Linked DNA regions of Homo sapiens: regions 2, 3 and 4 are each linked to region 1. Evidence: promoter capture Hi-C in 16 types of primary human blood cells and fetal thymus (Javierre and others, 2016). All regions are on one chromosome and are shown on one strand. The core of a region is centred on a gene start or on the middle of the fragment in contact, and the rest is flanking DNA. Distances in the headings are between cores, read along the strand shown.

What was found. The method cuts DNA at HindIII sites, captures the fragments that hold promoters and counts their contacts. A CHiCAGO score of 5 or more calls a contact.
Region 2: the fragment with the promoter of RFWD3 here is called in contact with a fragment that was not itself captured in region 1 in 3 of 17 cell types (M1 macrophages, M2 macrophages and erythroblasts); the score reaches 27.2 in M1 macrophages.
Region 3: the fragment with the promoter of MLKL here is called in contact with a fragment that was not itself captured in region 1 in 2 of 17 cell types (M1 macrophages and M2 macrophages); the score reaches 10.6 in M1 macrophages.
Region 4: the fragment with the promoter of CLEC18B here is called in contact with a fragment that was not itself captured in region 1 in 4 of 17 cell types (M1 macrophages, M2 macrophages, megakaryocytes and 1 more); the score reaches 27.8 in M1 macrophages.

The regions. Positions count from the first base shown.
Region 1 is chr16:70,146,845-70,150,775 of GRCh38, reverse strand. PDPR (pyruvate dehydrogenase phosphatase regulatory subunit) reads right to left here. Exons shown (of 19, transcript NM_017990.5): 17 at 2,223-2,312. Among named protein-coding and RNA genes, the nearest start is that of CLEC18C, 25 kb to the left of the region's middle. The HindIII fragment of the contact is 4,530 bases long and covers 1-3,515 here.
Region 2 is chr16:74,664,494-74,668,695 of GRCh38, reverse strand. RFWD3 (ring finger and WD repeat domain 3) reads left to right here and starts at 1,819. Exons shown (of 13, transcript NM_018124.4): 1 at 1,819-1,910. It also overlaps the pseudogene TMPOP2. RefSeq lists a silencer at 2,140-2,289. The HindIII fragment of the contact is 4,771 bases long and covers 1-3,781 here.
Region 3 is chr16:74,699,480-74,703,751 of GRCh38, reverse strand. MLKL (mixed lineage kinase domain like pseudokinase) reads left to right here and starts at 2,890. Exons shown (of 11, transcript NM_152649.4): 1 at 2,890-3,299. RefSeq lists an enhancer at 2,987-3,436. The HindIII fragment of the contact is 1,546 bases long and covers 2,641-4,186 here.
Region 4 is chr16:74,419,375-74,423,672 of GRCh38, reverse strand. CLEC18B (C-type lectin domain family 18 member B) reads left to right here and starts at 2,195. Exons shown (of 12, transcript NM_001385193.1): 1 at 2,195-2,526; 2 at 3,081-3,172. The coding sequence starts at 2,403. LOC107984827 (a long non-coding RNA gene) reads right to left here and starts at 1,553. Exons shown (of 3, transcript XR_001752253.3): 1 at 1,231-1,553. The HindIII fragment of the contact is 28,054 bases long and covers 1-4,298 here.

The DNA.
Region 1 (3,931 bases), core at 1-2,500:
CTTTGGGAGGCTGACGTGAGAGGATCACTAGAGTCCAGGAGTCTGAGACCAGCCTAGGCAACATAGCAAGACCCTGCCTCTACAAAAATAAAATTAAAAAATTAGCTGGGGATGTTGGCACATGCTTGTAGTCCCAGCTATTCAGGAGGCTGAGGCAGGGGGATCACTTCAGCCTCGGAGGTCAAGCTGCAGTAAGCCAGCCTGGGTGACAGAGCAATGCCCTGTCTCACAAAAAAAAAAAAAATTAAGAGAAAACCTATCACTACAAGTAGTATGACTAACATCAAGAAGAAAACAAGCATGCCTACAATCATTGATTGCTACCTGTCACAATAGAACAAAGGAAGGAAATTATAGGAAGAAAGACTATGGGCCCGGGTGCGGTGGCTCACGCCTGTAATTCCAGCACTTTGGGAGGCCGAGGTGGGTGGATCACCTAAGGTCAGGAGTTCGAGACCAAGCTGGCCAACATGGTGAAATCCTGTCTCTACTAAAAATACAAAAATTAGTCGGGTGTGGTGGCAGGCGCCTGTAATCCCAGCTACTCGGGAGGCTGAGGCAGGAGAATCACTTGAACCCGGGAGGCAGAGGTTGCGGTGAGCCTAGATCATGTCATCGCACTCCAGCCTGGGGGACAAGTGTGAGACTTCATCTCAAAAAAAAAAAAGAAAAAAAAAAAAAAAAGCCGGCCGGGTGCGGTGGCTCACGCTTCTAATCCCAGCACTTTGGGAGGCCAAGGCTGGCAGATCACGAGGTAGGAGATCGAGACCATTCTGGTTAACCCGGTGAAACCCCGTCTCTATGAAAAATACAAAAAATTAGCCGGGCGTGGTGGCAGGCGCCTGTAGTCCCAGCTACTCAGGAGGCTGAGGCAGGAGAATGGCGTGAACCCGGGAGGCGGAGCTTGCAGTGAGCCGAGATTGCGCCACTGCACTCCAGCCTGGGCGACAGAGTGAGACTCCGTCTCAAAAAAAAGGTTCTGGAGAAGGAAGAAACTATTACTATTTGCATATGATTAGACTGAACTCAGCCTGCAGACCTTTTTATAACAGCAAAAGACTAGAAATAACATAAATGTCTATTAGTATCGGAATGATGTACCACAATGGAATGCTACGCCACTGTTAAAAAATAAAGAAAAAAAGAACAAGGAAGCTCTTTTGCTTTAGGTACCAACAAAGAAAGAGCTCTAAGAGAAATTGTGAAGTGAGGCCGGGCATGGTAGCTCATGCCTGTAATCCCAGCACTTTGGGAGGCTGAGGTGTGTGGACCACTTGAGGTCAGGAGTTGGAAACAAGCCTGGGCAACATGGTGAAGCCCCGTCTGTACTAAAAATACAAAAATTAGCCAGGCGTGGTGGCGTGCACCTGTAATCCCAGCTACTCGGGAGGCTGAAGCAGGACAATCACTTGAACCTGGGAGGCGAAGGTTGCAGTGAACTGAGATTATGCCACTACATTCCACCCTAGGTGACAGAGTGAGACTCTGCCTCAATTAAAAAAAAAATTGTGAAGTGAAAAAAAAAAAAACAGGATGAAGAATAGCAGTATGCTTCCATTTCTGTTTTTAAAAAGGGGGCTTGGCTGGGTATGGTGGCTCACACCTATAATCCCAGCACTTTGGGAGGACAAGGTGGGTGTATCACCTGAGGTCAGGAGTTTGAGACCAGCTTGAGCGACATGGCAAAACCTGTCTCTACAAAAAAATACAAAAATTAGCCAGGCATGGTGGCACATGCCTACAGTCCCAGCTACTCGGGAGGCGGAGGTGGGAGGGTGGCTTGAGCCCAAGAGGTCGAGGCTGCAGTGAGCCACGGTCATGCCATTGCACTCCACCCTGGGCAAAAGAGTGAGACCCTGTCTCAAAAAAAAAAAAAAATTAATTATGAATTTGCTTGCAATATGCATACAAATCTGAAATGACATATAAAAGTAATACTAATATTATTGGTGACAGTTGGTGAGAACAGATCAGACGGCGCCAAATACTTTTTAAATGTATCACCTATTCAAAAAAACTTATATAACTTAGTTAAAAATGGTCAAATCTCTTCAATGCAGCCTACCTCAGCTCCCAAGGCCCAATCAGATACAGCTCTCCAAACCTGCCAGTGCTGGTGAACGCGCTGCTGGGAGCACTGGCACCCCACAGTGGTTGTGGGAAGGGAAGGGAAGGGAAGGGAAGGGAAGTGAAGGGAAGGGAAGGGAAGGGTGCCCTCTCACCTCTATGGGGATGTAGAGCATGAATCCTGGCTCTCCTGTGTGCGTCATGCTCATCACCCGGATCCCATTTGCATAGCCCACACTCATCTCCTGCAGGGACAAAGGCAGCAGTCAGCCTGGGCACTCACATTACTTGTCAAGGGAGGGACGCCTGGGGAAACCTTTCATTAGTGCTGCACCCTCTGTTTACTGTTGAGGGAGACAGACGTCAAGGCAAGAATTTCATCCCGAAAGTGGTTAACTTCCAGGTCCTGAGGCACAGAGAATGGAGCACTGCCTATGTGACATCTCTGCTTGCTACTGTTACCATCTCAGGAGTTTTAGCCAAGCTGATGGTAGAGAGTGGAGGAAAGTCCTTGACAAGCACAAAATATTCCTCTTTGCCAGGTCCTTGTGTTAGTCGAGGGTAGCAGGCACAATGAGGACAAGGCGAGTGTCTTCTCTGGGGGAATCAGCAGACAAACCCTGGCCGCCTGCCATACAAAAGATGATGCCCGATGCCCACAGACATAATTAATCTGCTATCCTGGGGTCAAAGATGGGCTTCTGATTCTCAGAACACGTTACATAGCAGCTCAGTTCCCTAACAGCGGCCACTGACGCAATCACCGTTCCTATAAAGGAAAGTGGAAAGTCCTGGACAGCACCGAAGTGAACCGCTTCCACAGGAGGCTGACAGGATGCAGCACTCGCCAGGTGTTGAGCGTATGGGTCACTCCTCCAAGCAGCAGAGCAAACGCTGGGAGGGGTCCACTGATAGCTAACAGTGGAGAGTTTTCTGTTGCTTTCACTTTGCCTCGGAGAAGAAGGAAAACTGTGAAACAATTTGTAGGTGGATCCCACTTTGGGTGAACTTCAAAGAGTCTCCATCAGTAACCACCTGGAAGTTGCTCGTTACAGGTGGCCAAGATGTCTGTCCGTTTGGCCCTCTCTAATCAGCAGCTTCCTGGGGAGGATTCCGTTGTCATTGCTTTCATTCGGTTACAGTTTGTTTCACTCAGCTGTGGTTGCCACTTATAGGAAAGAAAATTATGTAGGAAGTTCAGAGATTCACCTACGCCATTTCTTCCCTGAAGATGCCACAGACACAGAAGTTACTCTGTGTACAGAAAAGAGGCCACACTGCATGGAGAGAAGGGACCTAACTTCGAAAGGCATTTTTGTGTGTGTCATAATCCTGTAACTTCAAATTTTAATCCAGTGCTACAGAAACCAAAAAGCATAAAGACTTTACATTTAGAGAAGCTAAATCCACTTCAAAGATATCCTAATGCTTATTAAATAAAGCAAGCTTGGAGTGTAAAAAATAAACAAATAAGGCCGGGCGCAGTGGCTCACACCTGTAATCCCAGCACTTTGGGAGGCTGAGGTGGGTGGTTCACCTGAGGTCAGGAGTTCAAGACCAGCCTGGCAAACATGGTGAAACCCTGTCTCTACTAAAAATACAAAAAGTTAGCTGGGCATGGTGGCGGGCGCTTGTAATCCCAGCTACTCGGGAGGCTGAAACAGGAGAATCGCCTGAACCCGGGAAGTGGAGGTTGCAGTGAGCCGAGATCGCACCATTGCACGCCAGCCTGTGCAACAAGAGTGAAACTCTGTCTCAAAATAAATAAATAAATAAATAAATAAATAAATATACTTAGTCACTTCTTTGCTAATGAAGGGCAGCACATTTTTTTTTTTTTTTTTGAGACAGTCTTGCTCTGTTG
Region 2 (4,202 bases), core at 570-3,069, 4.5 Mb before region 1:
TTCTAGAGTCATCAGGAAGAATATTAGAGAAGGGATTTACATGGTTGGTTTCCATAGCTTGATAGACCAAACACACACAAAAAAACTGCCACAACAACAAACAGCAAAATTTTTATCCATACAGGAATGGAGCGTCCCTTTTTTTTGTATTTTCTCACTTGACGTCTGCCAAGGGAACATACTTAGGAACATATGTAGATGAAAACGACTCCTCCATCCTCAAATCACTGAGTTCTAATGGCCGGCCTGCAGCTCCTTTGATTGTTCTGCGGCAACTAGCACTAATTCTTGTTGGTGTAGTTGCTTCATAGGGGAACATTTCCTTAAGAATATCCCTTTCTACTCTTCTTTCCTGTGTTTTTTTTCTCCCACTTCAGCTCTTGTCAATGGTTTCTTTGGTGTTCTTCTGGGTATGTCTGAGAATTCAGTGACTGGCAGAATAGGAAATGCATGCTTGAAATTTCCAGTCACCCTATTGACAATTAAGGATTCGTTGTTTGAAGCAATTATAGTTTCAGCTATGGGAGTACTCGCTGAAATTACTGCTCCATCTATACGAAAATATTCTGAAGCGTGCACCCTTTTGCTTGGAGTTCTTCTTGACCCTCTTGTAGATTCCCTAGTTAATAATGCCTGCAGAGGTCCGCCTTTTGAAGATCCACTTGTCCATTCAGTCCCAGTTATTCCAGCTTGAGAATAGCTCTCCTTGTGCTCAACTCTTCTTTGCTTGAGGGTTACTGGAGTCTTTACTCCCCTGTTTAGCGGTTCTCTCTTCTCAAACTTGAGCCCAATTTAGAGTCTTCTTCATTTTCACCATATCTGTCAGAATCATTACTTCCATTCTGCCTTGTATTTTCTGCTGAAGAAGAAATTGTTGCTGAAGGAGACGATCTTGATTCTGTTCCTTGCTCCCTCAGTTTCAAAAGCTATTTCTCATACAGCTTCCTGGTTGTTCCCACAATAGGACCACAATTCACTCCGTATTTCACAAGCTGATCCAAAGGATCTTCATTAGTGAGTTCTGTTACATCTAGATCGTCTTTATCATCTTGTCTGGGTTTATCAGTTTTCTTTGTGGCTTTCCTGCCGGCGGCGGGCTCGGAGCCGAGACGGCTGTGGGCTCGCGCTCCTCGTACGTAGCTGGAGAATTCCGGGGGCCCCTTTCTTTTGGCGCTGGCGGCGAGCGGCGGCCCTAACAAGTGATTTGAGACTGTTCAGTAGCTCAGATCCCTTGCAGCGGTTTGAGATTGAAGAGATTATGTAGGCAAAGTATTTTGCGTGAGCTCTTCAACCCCATGAGAGGATACATATGAACTGGACTGTCCTACGCCTCTTTACAGGCTCCGAAATTCAAAATATTGAAATATTTTGAAATTATTCGATTAGCTGCTATCCTTTGGATACAGATAACTCCTTCACTAAAGCGTTAGGGATAAGCAGCAGGAGTCAGTTTTAATATCATCATCCCCATTCCAAAATGGACCGAGAAATCATATAACTTTCTCCCGCCAGAAAGTTCAAATAAAACGCGCTAAAAAAAAAAAAAAAAACCAAACAAAAAAAAAACAAAAAAACCTCCCATTTTTTCCGGGGCGGGTGCAAGGTGACGGACGTAGATTCCTGCCAATTGTAGGAGGCTTCCTCAAGCGCGGTCCCGCCTCGTCAGGACGAACTACCAGCCAATGAGAGCACCGCTGCTTCAGCTATCGGGGGACCCATTGAAGAAGAAGAGTGGGTATTGGCCACAGCGTAGGGCTTCTGTCCAATAGGAGCATGCCTGCCGGCGGCTCTGGCGGGAGCTTGAGCGGCTCCGGAAGTGGCAGTTGGCGTAGGTGCATTCGGAGTGCGGCCGAGGTAACTACCGAGTCTTCGGCGGGCTCGCGAGCCCGGCCGCGGCCTGCTGGTTTCAGGTGAGGAGGGGTGTTGCTTCTCCTCAGGCCTTGGGCCTCTAGCTTCGGGATAAACCTCCCCACGCCTGATTCCTGGATTGGGATTCAGGAGACACCCCACGAGGTGGGCTGCACGCGGGCTTGGAACCCGGCGGCCTGAGGGGATTCGGGCCCTCGGGGCGGCGCCAGTGGTCGGGGCTAAGGAGCCCGAACCCCCGCGCGTATCTGGGTTGCTGGGCGTGGGGGCTGGGCAGGCGAGAGCTCGGGGCGATCACTGAAGGAGCCGAGTTCGCTGCTGCGGGGCCTGCCCTGGCCGGGGTGGGAGGTCGCCCGGCCCTTCCCCCGAGAGCCTAGCCTCGGGCTCCTCAGCGGCGTTGCCTGCGCCCGCTCTGAGCGCCGATTACTTCATCACTTTAAAGTTGATGGAAGAACTTCATTTTTAATTTCATCACGGAAACTGTGGAGTAAAGACTTGTATTATCCCTGTTTTACAGGAGAACAAGTTGAGCCGAGTTTAGGAAACCCGCCCAAAGTTTCCCCATGTAGTAAAAGAACAGGGATTTAATATCTATGTATCTAATCAATCTATCTATCTATCTATCTATCTATCTATCTATCTATCTAATCTGTCTATCTAATCTATCTATGTCTTTCTTTCCCCATGTAGTAAAAGAACAGGGATTTAATTTCCTTCTTTCCCTCTCTCCCTTCCCCTCCCGTCTCCCTCTCCCTCCTCTTCCCCCTCCGCCTCTCCCTCTCCCTCTCTCTTCCTCCCTTTTTCCTGTTATAAAGAGAAAAAGGTGTTATAAAGAGAAAAGCGGTGGCTCAGGCCTGTAATCCCAGCACTTTGGGAGGCCGAGGCAGTCGGATCACCTGAGGCCAGGAGTTCGAGACCAGCCTGACCAACATGGAGAAACCCCATTTCCCAGCTACTCGGGAGGCTGAGGCAGGAGAATCGCTTGAACCCGGGAGGCCGAGGTTGCAGTGAGCTGAGATCACGCCATTGCACTCCAGCCTGGGCAACAAGAGTGAAACTCCATCTCAAAAAAAGAAAGAAAGAAAGAAAGAAAAGTCTCCCTGTTGCACCCAGGCTGGAAGAGCTCACTGCAGTCTCGAACTCCCGGGCCCCAGGGATCCTCCCACCTCGGCTTCCCGCAATAGCTGGGACCACAGGTGCGCGCCACCACGCCCGGCTCATTGTTTTATTTTTCTTTTTTCTTTCTTTTTTTGAGATAGAGTCTCGCTTTGTTGCCCCTGCTGGAGTGCAGTGGTGCGATCTCGGCTCACTGCAACCTCTGCCTCCCGGGTTCAAGCGATTCTCCTGCCTCAGCCTCCCAAGTAGCTGGGATTACAGGCATGCGCCACCACACCCGGGTAGTTTTTGTATTTTTAGTGGAGACGGGGTTTCACCATATTGGCCATTCTGGGACTCCGACCTCAAGTGGTCTGCCCTCGGCTTCCCAAAGTGCTGGGATTACAGGTGTGAGCCACCGCGCCTGACCTGTTCTATTTTTCTTTTTTGGTAGAGATGGGAATTTCACTGTGTTGCCCAAGCTGGTCTGGAACACCAGAGCGTAAGTGATCCATCCGCCTGGGCATTTCAGTGTCCAGGGATCACAGGCGTGACCCTCTGCACCGGCCAGAGCAAAGATTTGAACACTTCCCCCGCCCACCTCTTCTCAACCTTTAATTGAGGGGCTTTCGTCCTGCCTGTTGTGGCCATTGATTGAAACCTGAGTAACAAAGATGACAAGTCTGAGGTTGACATTTTAAGCACCGCTCACAGCACACATAAAAAACAGCGTTTGTGTGACATCCTCAAGGTTTGGGGTGCCCAGCCCATGGTCTCTCGTTCTAGGCACCTCCGACTGGCCTACAGTGGTTAGGAAGCTTCAGCTCCAGAACTGCACCGTTCCATAGAACTTTGTGCGACGAGAAAAGTGTTCTGTATTTCTGCTGTCCAGTATGGGAGTCACCCGCCCTATGTGTGTTTCTAGCAGTTGAAATGTGACCTGCACGACAAAGGAACTTATTTTATTTCTTTCTTTTTTCTTTTTTTAGACGGAGTCTTACTCTCTCTCCCGGTCTGGAGTGCAGTGGCGTGATCTCGGCTCAATGTAACCTCCACTCTCCGGGTTCAAGGGGTTCTCCTGCCTCAGCCTCCCAAGTAGCTAGGACCACAGGTGCACACCATCACGGCTGGCTAATTTTTTTGTATTTTTTGTAGAGACGGGGTTTTGCCGTGTTGCCCAGGCTGGTCTCCAACTCCTGGTCTCCAGCTACCTGCCTCAGTCTCCCAAAGTGCTGGGATTA
Region 3 (4,272 bases), core at 1,641-4,140, 4.6 Mb before region 1:
TGGCAACTCCAAGATAAAGCCAAAGAAACTGGGAATTATTTTTAATATTGTACAATTTTTAGTATGAATAGCCATTCTTATTAAATAGACTCATTTGGCCAGGCAAGGTGGCTCAAGCTCGTAATCCCAACACTTTGGGGGGCCAAGGCATGAGGATTGCTTGAGTTCAGAAGTTCAAGATCAGCCTCAGCAACACAGGGAGACCTCTGTCTCTACTAAAAATAAAAACATTTTAAAGGGCTCATTTAAACTTTTTTCTTTTCTTTTTTTTTTTTTTTTTTTTTGAGACGGAGTCTCACTCTGCCACCCAGGCTGGTGTGCAATGGCGCGATCTCGGCTCACTGCAAGCTCCGCCTCCTGGGTTCACATCGTTCTCCTGCCTCAGCCTCCCGAGTAGCTGGGACTACAGGCACCCGCCACCACATCCGGCTAATTTTTTTTTGTATTTTTAGTAGAGATGGGGTTTCACCGTGTTAGCCAGGATGGTCTTAATCTCCTGACCTCGTGATCCGCCCACCTCGGCCTCCCAAAGTGCTGGGATTACAGGCGTGAGCCACTGCGACCGGCCCTAAACTTTTTTCAAACATTTACATTTTCTCAACAGGAAATGTCCTTTCATTCTGCACAGTTCTCTCTGCTTTCTTCTAAAAGGTTCCTTGTTTTACATTTTACATTTAAATCTCTGATCCATTCAGGCAATTTTTGCATAGAATATGAGGTTTAGGTGAAGTTCATTTTTTTGTTCAGTTACTCCACCACCATTTGAACACCACCTATCTGGCAAAGGATTAATATCTAGAATATTTAAACTCTCAAAACTCAAGTTTTTTAAAAAGAATTCAACTAAAAATGGGCAAAAGACATGGACAGACATTTCACCAATGAGGCTATACAGATGGCAAACAAGCACATGAAAACATGTCCATCATCACCAGGCACTAAAGAAATGCCAATTAAAACCATGATGAGACCAGGCGCAGTGGCTCATGCCTATAATCCCAGCACTTTGGGAGGCCAAGGTGGGTGGATCACCTGAGGTCAGGAGTTCGAGACCAGTCTGGCCAATATGGCGAAACGCTGTCTCTACTAAAAATACAAAAAATAGACAGGTGTGGTGGTGCACGCCTGTAGTCCCAGCTACTTGGGAGGCTGAGGCTGGAGAATCGCTTGAACCCAGGAGGTGGAGGTTGCAGTGAGCTGAGATGGCGCCACTGCACTCCAGCCTGGGCAACAGAGTAAGACTCTATCTCAAAACAAAACAAAACAAAAAACCATGATGATATATCACTATTCACCTGTTAGAATAGCTAAAAATTCAGGCAGGGACAAAATAAAATGCTGCTGAGGATGCAGAGAAACTGAATGTCTTGTACATTGATGGTGGGACAGTAAAAAAAAAAAAAAAGAAAAGAAAAGAAAAAAACTTCCAAAAGGTTATACATTGTATGATTTTGTTTATAGCAGATCAGTATACCCATCCTGCAGCTGCTATGAGTGTTGACAGCTAAACACTCACACAGCTTCCCCCTCGTCCAGAAGAATTGCCCTGGGCAGAAAGGAGGCTGCCTCTTGTTCCAGACCTTCACATTCCAGACCTCCCCATGGAGCCTCCACTGACTACATACTTGTTTCACTTTTTCTTCCTCTGCCCTATCATACCCACCACTCTCCTAAGAGTCTTCCTTCAATAAATCACAGGCACCTGTGTTACTTGTTGAAGGTGTCCAGGTTCTTGGCATCTTGAACAAAGAAATGGGCAAAATGCACAAAGCAAGGAAAGAATGAGGCAACAAAAGCAGAGATGTATTGAAAACAAAGGTACACTCCACAGGGTGGGAGCCAGCGTGAGCATAGGGGCTCAAGAACTCCGTTACAGAATTTTCTGGGATTTAAATACCCTCTAGAGGCTCCCATTGGTTAATTGGTGTACACCCTATGTAAATGAAGAAGATGAAGTGAAGTTGCTCAGTCACTTACTCAGTGAACGCCATATGTAAATGAAGAAAATATTTCCTGTCATAGCTGAAATGTGTCCATTTTATTTAGTTCTAAGAAGTCAGCGTGAATCAGCTTTATGTTCCCTGCCTGCAGACCCTATTCTCCTGCCTCACCTCAATCTCTTCACCTAAGACAGGAAGAAAACTGATGATGCAGGAGACGAAGAACAATAGCAAGGCGAAGAAATGAATCTCCAAGGCCGGCTTCAAGCGATTCTCCCCTCTCAGGCTCCCGAGTAGCTGGGATTACAGGCATGCACCACCACGCCTGGCTAATTTTTGTATTTTTAGTAGAGACAGGGTTTCCCCATGTTGGCCAGGATGGTCTTGAACTCCTGACCTCAGGTGATCTGGCCACCTCCGCCTCCCAAAGTGCTGGAATTACAGGCATGAGCCACCACACCCAGCTCCCAGTTCTGTTCTTTTAGAGGCAAATAGTCTGTTGAGTAAATGCATAACACTACTTAGACTTTCTAGCTGAAGATGTAGTTAATCTTAAGAAAACCTGACTCACACTGTAACAGGATGTTCTGCAATGACCTTAGAAGAGGAAGTGACTTTTTTCCCACTTTGGTGTCTCTTCCCTCGTACCCTCCCCACCCCGCCAATATTATCCAGCACAGAGAAGCAAACACCAGAAGCTTCTCTCCAACTTTCAGTTTTTCTCTAAACTTCCAGTCCTTCTCATACTGTGTCCTGGTTATAATAGTTGCTGGGACCTTATTCTATTCTGAATCCCCAGCCCCTAAAGAAGGCTTGGTACTGACGTGTACAGCGTAGTTACCCAGTGACTTTGGGGAAGGCAGGAAGAGTGTGGAAAGGACAGGAGGAAGGAAGGGAGGGGCCGTGGCTCCGAGCTGCCTAGAAAGCGGCTCCAGGGAGCCAGGGCACCGTGAGCCTGGTGGTTGGCAGCTGGAGCCACGTCGGAGGGGGAAGTGTCGCAGCATTCTCTGCAGGCATCACAGACCTGAGGCAGTGGCCTCCGGAGGGCACTGGACAGAAACAGCCATCCAAGTGGCTGAGTGGAGGGACCCTGCTCAAGTGCAGCTGCAGTGGCCGGGGTTTCCCTCAGGTAGGGATCGGGGCGCCTTGTCGCCGCCAGCCACGTGTGGCGTCCGGTACAGTCAGCAGAGTGCAGGGTGCGGGCACCAGGAAAGGGGGCGCAGGGGAACTCCCGCGGGCCTCGCGTTTGCAAACTTCTCGCCTGGGCAGGAGGCGGTCGTGGGAAAGAAGGTGGAAGAGCGAGCTTTTTGGAACTGTGCACGGGACAGATTGGACGCACACCCCTCGGGAGGCGCGAAGGTGAGCATGGGGTCTTCCCAGGAGGCGGCGGGGCCGAGGGGCTGCAGCCGAATTCCTGGACGGTGATGGGAAGAACCAGGGGTGAGGGTGGCCCGGTCCGAGTTCCTGGAACTCAGGACCGAGTTGGTTTCATTTCCTCAGCTCTGATGGTGGAGCTGCCTGCTCGGATCTCGCACTACCTTCCGCCAAAGCGAGACGCCCAGTAGCAGTGGGGGTCGTGGAGGGCAGGGGCACGGGAACAAGTTACCTGATGTCTTCTCAGAAAAAGGAAGTCTTCAGGTTTGCAGGCTGAAGGCGTGAGAGAGAGACAGAGTGAGAGAGAGAGAAGAGGGAAATGCCTGATAACCTTTACTTATTTTATTTTATTTTTATTTTTTATTTTTTGGAGGGAAGAGGTGAATTTGCATTGTTATTACCATTTAAAGATTTTTCACTTTTAAAATTAGTAACCTGTTTTCTCATCGTAACATATGAACATAATCCCCTTTTTCTTTTTATTTATTTATTTTGAGAGATGGAGTCTTCCTCTGTTGCCCAGGCTGGAGCGCAGTGGCACAATCATAGCTCACTGCAGCCTCCGAACTCATGGGCTCAAGTGATCCTCCAACCAGATCCTCCCAAGTAGCTAGGACTACAAGGTGCACATCACCACACCCAATTAAATTTTTTTTGTATTTTTTGGTAGAGCCAGGGTCTCGCTTTGTCACCCAGGCTGGTCTCAAACTCCTGGGCTCAGGTGATCCTCCTACCTCACCCTCCCAAAGTGCTGGGATTACAGGTGTGAGCCACTGCAGCTGGCCTGAACATATTCTTAGCTGTTTGTTTTACATATTATAAATAGCACTGCAGTGAACATCTCGGTAGCCATCTATCTACAAACACAAGCTTTTCTACATCATAAGTTCCTAGAAATTCAAATTGCCCAGTCTAAGTGTGTATATATGTATATTCCCTTTCTTCCCTTGTAGATCAT
Region 4 (4,298 bases), core at 946-3,445, 4.3 Mb before region 1:
CTGTTGCCCAGGATGGAGTGCAATGGTGCCATCTTGCTTCACTGCAACCTCCGCCTCCCAGATTCAAGCAATTCTCCTGCCTCAGCCTACCGAGTAGCTGGGACTACAGGCACCCACCACCCTGCCCAGCTAATTTTTGTATTTTTAGTAGAGACAGGATTTCACCATGTTGGCCAGGCTGGTCTCAAGCTCCTGACCTCAAGTGATCCGCCTGCCTTGGCCTCCCAGAGTTCTGGGATTACAGGCATGAGCCATCACACCCGGCCTGGGACTCTTCTTGCAGTGAGCCAGGGCCATGGGACCCTTCAAAAGTTGCTCCACCCTAATCCCCAAAATATCTTTTTCTCCCGCCTGTCCCAAGTGCCTGGCATCATACTATATGGGTCAACTGGCCGTGTTTGCCATGGAAGCCCAATTGTAGGAAGTGGGTCTTTTATCACCCGGCATAGCAGAGCTGTGGAAACTGCACTGGGAAAGATCAGGATGTGAATTAAAGCGTTGGGAATGGGAAGGCAGAGACCTTGGATTAGCTGGGATGCTCCATGCACTCGCTGAGTGACCTTGGACAAGCCCCTTAGACACACTAAGCCCGTTTCCTCATCTACACGACGGGCATCCCATCTGCTACTGCACCAGGTTCTTGTGGCAATAACTTGAACTCACACATGCAAACAGGCTTTGTGAGCTCCATAAACACAGGTGGCTCGGCCAGGTGTGGTGGCTCATGCCTGCAACCCCAGCACTTTGGGAGGCCAAGGTGGGAAGATCCCTTGAGCCCAGGAGTTGGAGACCAGCCTGGGCAAGACGATGAAATCCTGTCTCTACCAAAAAAAATAATAATAATTAGCCAGGCATGGTGGCACACACCTGGTCCCAGCTACTTGGGAGGCTGAGGTGGAAGGATCACTTGGGCCCAAGAGGTCAAGGCTGCAGTGAGCTGAGATTATAACACTCCAACCTGAGTGGCAGAATGAAACTGTCTAAAAAATAAAAATAAAAATACATCAAAAAACAGGTAGCTATTAAGCATTGCTAGGACCCACACGCAGTGACCCTGAGGGTGCTGGGTTTCTGTTTGAGGGAGAAGAAACTCCTGAGCCCCTAGGTATTGTGGGGGACATGCAGTTCCAGACCGCCTTCATGGCCTGTATGCCTGGCCTCATCCCCATCCCTGGCACCCATGACGATAGCCACATTCCACTGGTGTTTCCCCAGGAAAGCCAACCCTACCTGCATCTCAGCAGAGCTTCCACGGAGTTGGAACCCCGCTCCGAGAGGGTGTGGGCTCAGGGGCCAGGGGTCACACAAACTCCAGAAGGAGGACGTAGTTGGTTTGCAAGGCTGTCCTTTGCCCTGGTTGAATAACCTTCGGTCTGCCCCGAGAGGAACGTGGGCATTAGGCTGCAGCCCGCAGGAAGCCATGTATTTTCTGAGAAACTTGGCCCATGGTGCAGATCTGCTCCAGCTCACTCTGGTGGGATCACGCCAGCCACGGCCGGGCCACGGCACATCATGGCAACGTGCTGCCCACCTGCTACGCCGCCTGTTTTTCTAGAGGCGGACGTGATCCCAGCAGGACTGGAGTCAGCCCAGGGCATCACGTGCTCTGGTCCCCGCCTGCTTTGACTCCTCCTGCCTCACTCCCCCCCTGGCCTGTAGTCACGTGGGTGAGGGTGGTGGGCACCGGGGCTGGGCCCAGCCCCCGACCCTGCCCAGACAGACTTTCCTAAGGCACCCTTTTCCTCGTGCAGGTGCGGCCTCAGCCCACCCCCCTTTGAGCCCACAGATTGCACCCCTCTGGTGTGCGGTTACCTCTTGCCTATGTTTAATTCATGGCTGGGGGGTTGGGACGAGCTTCCCAAGAAAGGAAAGAACTCCCCTGGGGTCTTGCCCAGTTCCTGCTCACCAGAAGGACCATAGCCGAGGTCCTCCTCCCAGGGCCCGGGGCTGGGGAGCGGAAGCCATCAGTGGGCTCGGAGGACACTGTCCCAGCCAGGACACGGCCATCGGTCACTAATCTGCAGCACCGGAATGTCCCCAGGCCAATCAGCGGGGTCTCTGGGGGCTCCCCAAGGGTGCTAATAATCCCACAATGATTAGCAGGGGCCGCGGGGCAGTGCACGCCACTCTGCCTGCTGTCGGGGGCGGGCTGGCCAGGCCGAGGCCGGAGCAGGCAGGCATCCCCGGGAGTTGTCTCTTTTCATGCCAGCGCCAACAGGAGGCTGTCTGGACACACTGATTACTCACTCACCAGCCTCCTTCTTTTGTTCACCAGCCCCCCTCTTTTGTCCACCAGCCCAGCCTGACTCCTGGAGATTGTGAATAGCTCCATCCAGCCTGAGAAACAAGCCGGGTGGCTGAGCCAGGCTGTGCACGGAGCGCCTGACGGGCCCAACAGACCCATGCTGCATCCAGAGACCTCCCCTGGCCGGGGGCATCTCCTGGCTGTGCTCCTGGCCCTCCTTGGCACCACCTGGGCAGAGGTGTGGCCACCCCAGCTGCAGGAGCAGGCTCCGATGGCCGGAGGTAAGGGACACCTGGTGAGGAGGTAGGTGGAGGCACCATTATGAGCTCTGAGGAGTGGGTGCTAGGAGACTTCTGGAAGCCCGGTCCCAGGCCTGAGCCCCAGGCCGTGCGGGTGGTTTAATGAGGAAGCCCTGGGACAGCCCGGGGGCGGTGAGGGGTGGATGCTGGACTGGGGAGGAAGGAGGAGGAAGGAGGAGGAAGGAGGACCAGGGCTGGGGTCAAGGAGGAACGCCGAGGAGCGCTGTGGCTGGGGCCTGGAGAAATCCGTGGCCCGGAGGAGCCCCAGACAGGGGCCTGCGGGAGCCAGGGCTGGCCCCTACACCCAGCCCGCACCGCTGTTCCCTCCCGCCACCCCAACCCCAGCACTCAGCCCACGCCTGCTGTACCTGGTCTCTCTCTCAGCCTCGCTCCATTGCTATGCCCCACGTCCCCTGCACCCACCACACTCCTCTCCCATCTTGTTTTCCAAGGGCAGGGACACATGCTTATTCTGCCGTGTGTTGGGTTCAGGTCCCCCCATCCTCGGGCTGCCTGACCTTCTCTCCCCACCCCAGCCCTGAACAGGAAGGAGAGTTTCTTGCTCCTCTCCCTGCACAACCGCCTGCGCAGCTGGGTCCAGCCCCCTGCGGCTGACATGCGGAGGCTGGTGAGTACCCGACCCAGCTGGGCTCTGCCAGGGGGGTGGCCGGAGGCGCGGACCCCAGAGGGCGGCTCAGGAGGCCACGCCTGTCCAGGTGCCCTTCCACTTGACCAGGGTGGGCAGGCACAGCCAGCCACCTTGCCCCTGAGGGACGGAGGCCCTGGTTGCTGGGGGTCTCTGCAGTTTCTTAACCCCCCACCCTCAGTTCAGGAGGTCGGGCCCCTTGGCTCCCACTCGCCTGAAGGGCAGGACCTTGGGCCTTCCCTGGCATCTTGTTGCCACAGAGACCAGGAGCCACAGGAGGAGCCGGATCCCCTCCTCCAGGGAAGGGGAGCTTCACGAGGAGCCCTGCAGGATGGGCGGCCGGGCCAGGGAGGGAGAAGGTCGTGCTGGGCTGGGGAGGGGCTTCTGTGCGGCAAGGACCCAGCGCCTCCTCCTGAGCTTATCTGAGCCACTAGGACGGGCCTTGCCCATGTTCTCTGCTCACTCACTCGTCCACATTTTCCACATTTTCAGCAGGGGCCAGGGGTCGGGGGTATAGAGTTCCCCACCAGCCCGGCTGGGGCTGCGGGGTTGGGACTGTCATCTGGAGGCTCAGAAACGCTGCCCTCCATTGTCTGGGACCCCAGCAGCCCCAGCCCATGTTAGCAGGCCAGGGAGCCAGGGCAGGGTGGTGGGGGCGGGAGGGTTCCCCATGGCTGCTTCCCATGAACTCCTCCAAGGCAGGTGGCCACAGTGGCGACCTTGAACACTCTAGGGTCAGTTTCCCAGGAGGTGGGGGTGGGGTGGCTAAATGCGGGGGGTCGCTTCTCCCCCATTCCCAGCCCTGAGTGGCTCTGCCTCTCCTCAGGCTCAGACCCTGGGCAACCAGGGGTGCTCCCAGCTGTGACCTCCGTGGTTGGGTACTCCTGCCTGGGACCCCAGGAGGGGCTGCGGTGGTCGTTGGCTGGCAGCTGGCACCCTTTCCAGGGCCCTTTTGTCAAAGTCTTAGAAAACTTCATTTCCATAAAGGTGCAAATGGAGCTCCATGGCTCAGCCTCCCTCGTGGCCCGGCCCCGAGCACCCTCCGGGCCTCTAGGGCTCCAGGGCACCCCTTCTTTGGACACAGTGGAGACTGAAGGTCTTGTGGGGG